2 separate regions of the Homo sapiens genome follow, and region 1 is linked to region 2. The links are contacts of gene promoters, found by promoter capture Hi-C in blood cells and fetal thymus (Javierre and others, 2016). All regions are on one chromosome and are shown on one strand. The core of a region is centred on a gene start or on the middle of the fragment in contact, and the rest is flanking DNA. Distances in the headings are between cores, read along the strand shown.

Region 1 (2,942 bases), core at 350-2,849, 790 kb after region 2:
GTTGTCTGACCTAATAAGCAGAGGCTAAATTCACAATTAATTAAAGATTTCATGTTCATTCAGCCAAGACATGCCTCAAACCACTTTTTGTTCAGCTAGCCAGCAAGATACTTAGAGCCATATTTAGGACATCTTGCAACTATAATCAACATATGCAAAATATCCTATTTCAAAGAAGATCCTTCCTTTATAAGATTAGTAATTCTGTTGTATGAACAGGATTTTTCTCTATTATGCTAAATATAATCATTTTGTAGTAAATGAATACGGCAATGTACTATATGAAAATTTATATGTAATTTGATTATTGTAATTTAACAAATAGTTCTCTTACTGAAGATCAGGCAGCATATTTTTCTATTTAGGGATGAGGAAACAGAGGTTTGGAGAGGTTAAGCTGTTTTCCTAAGGTTATATAACAGGTATGTGGAATTCTGATGCAGGAACTCCTATCTGTTTAATCCAAAGTGCCTCACACCCAACAATACTGCTTTTACTTGATATATAATGATAAAACCTTGATATATAATGATAAAACCTAACTGCAATCACCAATCTTTTTCTTTTTTTTCTTTTCTTTTTTTTTTGTTTTTTGAGATGGAGTCTAGCTCTGTCACCCAGGCTGGCGTGCAATGGCGCGATCTCCACTCACTGCAACCTCCACCTCCCAGGTTCAAGCTATTCTCCTGCCTCAGCCTCCCAAGTAGCTGGGATTACAGGTGCCCGCCACCACGCCCAGCTAATTTTTGTATTTTTAGCAGAGACAGGGTTTCACTGTGTTGGCCAGGCTGGTGTCGAACTCCTGACCTCGTGATCCACCCTCCTTGGCCTCCCAAACTGTTGGGATTACAAGCGTGAGCCACCGCGCCCGGCTCACCTATCTTTTTCTAAGGATAGAGACCAAAGAAGCCACAACCCCTTCCAAGGAGTCAACTGACGCCAATGGGATGCTGTGGTGCAGGACACTTGGGGGGTGCTGCAGCTGATGCCCCTTGGTCTCCTGGTGGTGGAAGGGAAATGGGACTAGATACGAGATTGGCATCTAAGCCATACAAAAAAGCTGTCTCAGACAGGTTGGGCCAGTAAGCACAACGTCACTTATCTATATTGGCTTCTGGTTACCTAATGGGTTTGGTTTGGTAAAAATTAAGAATCAGACTTCTGGGATGCAAGCTATGCCTGTTCAAAATCTGCTGTCAGCCCCTGTGTTTCAAGCTTAACCTTGAACCTCATCATTAATCAGGTGACCTTAGACCGTTTTATCAGCCACGTATCTGCTAGCATAAATCTCCCTTCTGTGAATTCAGAACACTGATACCTCACATTCACTAAAAATACAATGAGAGACAGATGCTCACTTTCTTTATTTGCTGTTGTATTCTTGGTCCCACTTTGCCATTTTTAAAACAGGAAAACGTTTCCCTTACTCGAACGCTAAAGTGCAAAGCTGCTGGTGACGCTGCCTTCTCCCACCTCCGCACTCCACTGTCCTTGCAAACTTTGGACAGAGGAAAGGTGGGCACGGGGCGCGAAACTACAAGTCCCGGCATGCACGGCGTTCTCCGCACAGGCGCACGGGGACCGCCGGGCCAGCCGGCCAGCCAGCCTGCGGAGACTCCCGGGTCCCCGCGCCGGACTGGGACTGGGAGCAGGCAGCCCGGGCGGAGCGGGCCGGTGCCGAGGACGGCCCCAGGCATTGCTCTGCCCCGGGCATTGCGCGGCGCGCGTGAGGGGGATGCGGCAGGAGGCGGCGCGGCGGGAGGAGTAGGCGGCGGCGCCCTCGGGAGGGAGCTGCGCGCGGGCCAGACGGCGCCCGGAGGCTCCGCAGTGCCGCCGCCGTCGCCCGGGAGGCTCCGCGCGGGAGCCATGTAACCCTGCGGCGGGCTCCGGGCTGCTCCGTCCTTCCCCAGCTCCCGGGCTAGCGCGGCAGCGGGGCCACGATGAAGAAGCAGTTCAATCGCATGCGCCAGCTGGCCAACCAGACGGTGGGCAGGTAGGTCACCCGCGGGCACCGCTGTCGGTGCGCGCCCGCGAGGCTGCATCCGCAGGGGCGCGCAGGTGATGGAGCCCGCCCAGCCTCCAGTCCTCCTTGCCTCAGTCCTTTCCCCTGCACCAGCTCCCTCCAGGCGCCGCTCGCAGGCGCGACCCCTCCTCCCTAACTTCCCAGACCCCGGAGCTCTTCTCACTCGCCGCCTTCTGCTCCGGGCTCCGGTTGCCAAGCGCAAAGTGTGACGCATCCTTTACCTGCGTCCCCGGCTGCCCCTTCGCTTCGTCCTCCCTGCCTTTCCCCGGGACTCCCTTCTCCCTCTGGCCGCCTGTCTTCCTGGAAACAGGTGTTTGCTCTGATTGTGCTGGAGGCAGCCGAACCGCAGTCGGTCTCCGGAGATCTCTTCCCTCCCCTCCCCTGCGCCGAGTTCAGGGCTGCTCCCGGGTCCAGGGAAAGTGCTGGGCCTGGTCGGCCTGCCCCTCCCGCCGTGTTTGTTTTCAGGGACTATGACTGTACGAGATTCTGGATCACTTTCCTGGCCGGGTTTCTTAAGGCGTTTGGTGGGGGGAAAGGGTGAGGGGTGGGAGAGGAAGGAAGGTGCTGGTGGAATGGCGTTGCTGCCTGCTTGATGTTAGGACTGATTTCAGTGGAGGGAGGGAGGCTGCAAAAAGGAGGCCCAAGTCCTCGGGAAGATGAGATAAGCAGAGAATCGCAGCCAGGTAGGGGAGGGGGACAGAGGCCCCACAGTCAGAAGAGTCAGGCCCCGGGAAGCTGCAAGACCCCGCCTGCTGCCATCACGGTGAAAATGGGCTACATCTGGACTCCAGGAGCGGCTCTGCAGGGTGCCAACATCTATTAAGGTTACATAAAAATCCTGGTGGGTCGCTCCCAAGACTAGACATTCTTTGAACACAGGAGCGTTAGGTAGAAGGGATTTTTCCTGGAACCCCTACTC
Region 2 (3,219 bases), core at 454-2,953:
CCAAGAACTGCAGAGTATACATTCATTACAAGTGCAAAGAGTATTCATCAAAACAGACCATATGCATAATTTTCAAATGACTGATATCTTAAAATTAGCTCTAAAAATATTACGCAAAGTGGTATTGCTAAAAAGCCATTAAAGCAATACCAAAAAACACTCAAAAACCCAATATCTGATAGAAAAGGAACACAAGAGAAACAAAACCAGAAAGGTCAAATGGAAAACTTTAGAGCTTCCTGGGTTCAAATATATTCTCTGATCATAGTGCAATTAAAGTAGAAATCAATAACAATAACTAGAAAATCCCAATTTATGGAAATTACTAAATAATGCTCTTAACCCATAGTCAAAGAAAAAAATCACAAAGGAAATTAAAATATGTTTTCATACTGAGTGACAATGACAGCATTATCAAACCACCTGAAAAGCAGCTTTAGCTCAGAGGTAAACCTACAGTTTCAAATAACATCTTAAAAAACGAATAAATATATTTTTAAAAATACCTTGCTTTGTAAATCCAACCTATTTGGCTCAAGAGTTTCAAATAACAAGCGGCAAGATTTTAGATAGCAAGATACCGACCTGTAAACTTACTGCAATTTATCTGTTTCCTAAATTAAGATAGCAGTTTAGATAATATTTAAGAGAAATGACATTTTGGAAAAACTACAGATTTTATAAAATACTTAAATCTTTTGTTAGTAATATTATACTCCCAGGTAGTGTGTAAGAAAAATGTCTCGATTATTCAAAATTAAATTACTTTATATAGTATTAAAAATTTAATAGAGTTTATATTCCGATAACCTCATGAGGAACTGCCCCCATTAGTTATGAAAAAAAAATAAGGTTGTCTGTTATACCTGTTATTAAACCTTTAACAAATAGAATGAATTTTTAAAAGTGCATTCTAGGTGTAATATACACAAGTGGTTACATACATGGTTACATATATAAGTAACCATTTGTTAAGCACCTACTACGTATCGGCTCATTATTAAGCTCGGTTCATGTATTTCCAATTCCCACAATTACCCTGGTGTACAGATCAGGAACCTCCGAGGCTCACAAGTGGCAGCCAGATTAACCCAGGAAGCTCTAAAGCCTTTGCTTTGGGGAGAACTGCCAACGTCTGGTGATTTGTTGGGGCGTTTTCTGGTTGTCACAAGCAGCTAGGGGAACTGGCATTTAGTGCTCGAGGCCAGGGCAGCGCTGCTCATTGGATATGTATTCTCCACCATGCGCCCCCCAAATGCCGACTGCACTCTGATGAGAGAGGGAGAGACTCCAGGCATCATCCCATCGGGTTTCCTCTTCCAGAGACTCATTTTCAGCCCTTAGGGGAAGACAGCGGGGAGGAGCCCGTTTTCGGTCCCAGTGCAGAGACCCGGCCGGTCCCGCGGGGCGCAGAGGCGCAGGAATGCAGAGCCGGGACGGGGTTCACACATCCCCCCGCACCCACGGTCCACTCCCAGCCATGGCTGCCCCGGCCCCGCACTCGCCACGTCCCCCGCGCGCTCCCAGACGCATGGGCAAGGGAGCCCGCTGGCCCCTCCGTAGCTCCGGGGTGCCCAGCTGAGTCAGGTGCGGACGCAGATAGCGCAAGGCCTGACCCCGAGCGGCCGGAGGCCGGGACCGCCCCGCAAGCGCGCTCACCTCGGCCCGCGGCGCCGGCTCCGGGCGCACTTCCGGGAGCTGGGTGGCTGCGCGCGCCTCAGGCGGCAGGCGAACGACGTGCGGCACCGGGCGGAGCTAGGGGGCGGGGGCGGAGCTGATACCGAAGCTCCTATTGGCCGTCGGGGACGCCCCGCCTCTCTCTGGCGTTGCAGCCCAGGAGCCTCCACCGACATGGCAGCGAGGTTCCCGAGCCAACGCCATCCTCCGTTCCTTCCGTCACTCACTCACTAATCACTGTTCCTGAGTTCCTTCACTTCTCACCCGTCATTTATTGCGCACCTATTCTGTGCCAGGCACTCGGCCAAGCACTGCGAGGCCTTCAAAGATCATTTCTTTGTCTCTCCCAAACCCTTCCGCCCAGTCCCACCCGCAGAGCTGCAACGCTCTGCCATTATCCCTGATTCTTAACCGCCGCCTTTCTCCTTTCCGTTCTTGCCTCACTGGGCCTCCCTGAGACACTTGATTTGCCCCAACCTTCTTCCTCTGTCTTGGTTCTCCCACTCTCATCAGCTCTGCATCCCCTGGGTCCTCTCCCACTTCTCCCCATTCCGTTGGGGCTAGTCCAATGTGGTGCCATCCTCTTTCCACCTGCGTCTCTCTCTCTTCTCTCTCTCTCTCTCAACAAATGTCATCCCTGACTCTTCCCTTCTCCTTCCCTTTCCCACACGCCAACAATGGCTGAATCCTCTGATTTGACCTCATTGTCTCTCAGACACCTCACCCTCTCTCCCTTCTCACTATCCCTCCCTCGGCTCAGTTCCACACCATTTGTAATGGTCAAGACCTTCTTACCCTTTCCCCAGCGTCCAGTGTTGCCGGTTTCCAGGCCATCCTGTGCTGGGCCACGACATCAACTTGTGATACTAAGTTGCATTAATGGAAGTATCATGTCAAAGTTTGGGTGTTCCACCTTGGGCAACTGGCAAAGAGGAGGGTATTCAAAAAAAGCTGCCATGTTCCCCAATAACCTATGGAAATAAAATAAATAAAAAATAAAAATTTAAAGAAGAGCTGTCATTATCATAACATGTCCTGTACCTGTCATTATCATAACATGTCCTGTACCTGTCATTATCATAACATGTCCTGTACCTGTCATTATCATAACATGTCCTGTACCTGTCATTATCATAACATGTCCTGTACCTGTCATTATCATAACATGTCCTGTACCTGTCCCATGTTTACAAGAATTAAAGATCCTCCTCTGGAGAAATAAAGCTTGATGCGGGGATGGGATTACATCTTCATGTACCTGAAAAGTGACCAGCGGAAAAGGGATTCGACATGTTCTCTTAAGTCCCAGGGTCTGAACAAGATCCTATGTGTGAAACTACTGTTTCAGCCTGACATAGGTGGAAGTTTCTAGTCTTTTTTTTTTTTTTTTTTTTTTTTTGTATTTTTGGTGGAGACGGGGTTTCACCATGTTGGCCAGGCTGGTCTCGAACTCGTGACCTCAAGTGATCCACCCACCTTGGCCTCCCAAAGTGCTGGGATTACAGGCATGAGCCATGGCACCTAGCTGGACGTTTCTAACAT

What was found. Contacts are between HindIII fragments. The CHiCAGO score rates a contact against its expected background, and 5 or more counts as called.
Region 1: a contact is called between the fragment with the promoter of ARHGAP44 here and the fragment with the promoter of ZNF18 in region 2, in 2 of 17 cell types (M2 macrophages and erythroblasts). The highest score is 6.9, in M2 macrophages.

Annotation. Positions count from the first base shown.
Region 1 is chr17:12,787,899-12,790,840 of GRCh38, forward strand. It overlaps ARHGAP44 (Rho GTPase activating protein 44), which reads left to right and starts at 1,600. Exons shown (of 21, transcript NM_014859.6): 1 at 1,600-1,993. The coding sequence starts at 1,941. It overlaps ARHGAP44-AS1 (ARHGAP44 and MYOCD antisense RNA 1), which reads right to left and starts at 2,386. Exons shown (of 2, transcript NR_104607.1): 1 at 2,245-2,386. RefSeq lists a silencer at 1,527-1,876. The HindIII fragment of the contact is 2,845 bases long and covers 1,214-2,942 here.
Region 2 is chr17:11,995,772-11,998,990 of GRCh38, forward strand. It overlaps ZNF18 (zinc finger protein 18), which reads right to left and starts at 1,704. Exons shown (of 7, transcript NM_001303281.2): 1 at 1,660-1,704. RefSeq lists a silencer at 1,403-1,852 and enhancers at 1,785-2,768, 1,883-2,122, 2,193-2,272. The HindIII fragment of the contact is 4,230 bases long and covers 1-2,899 here.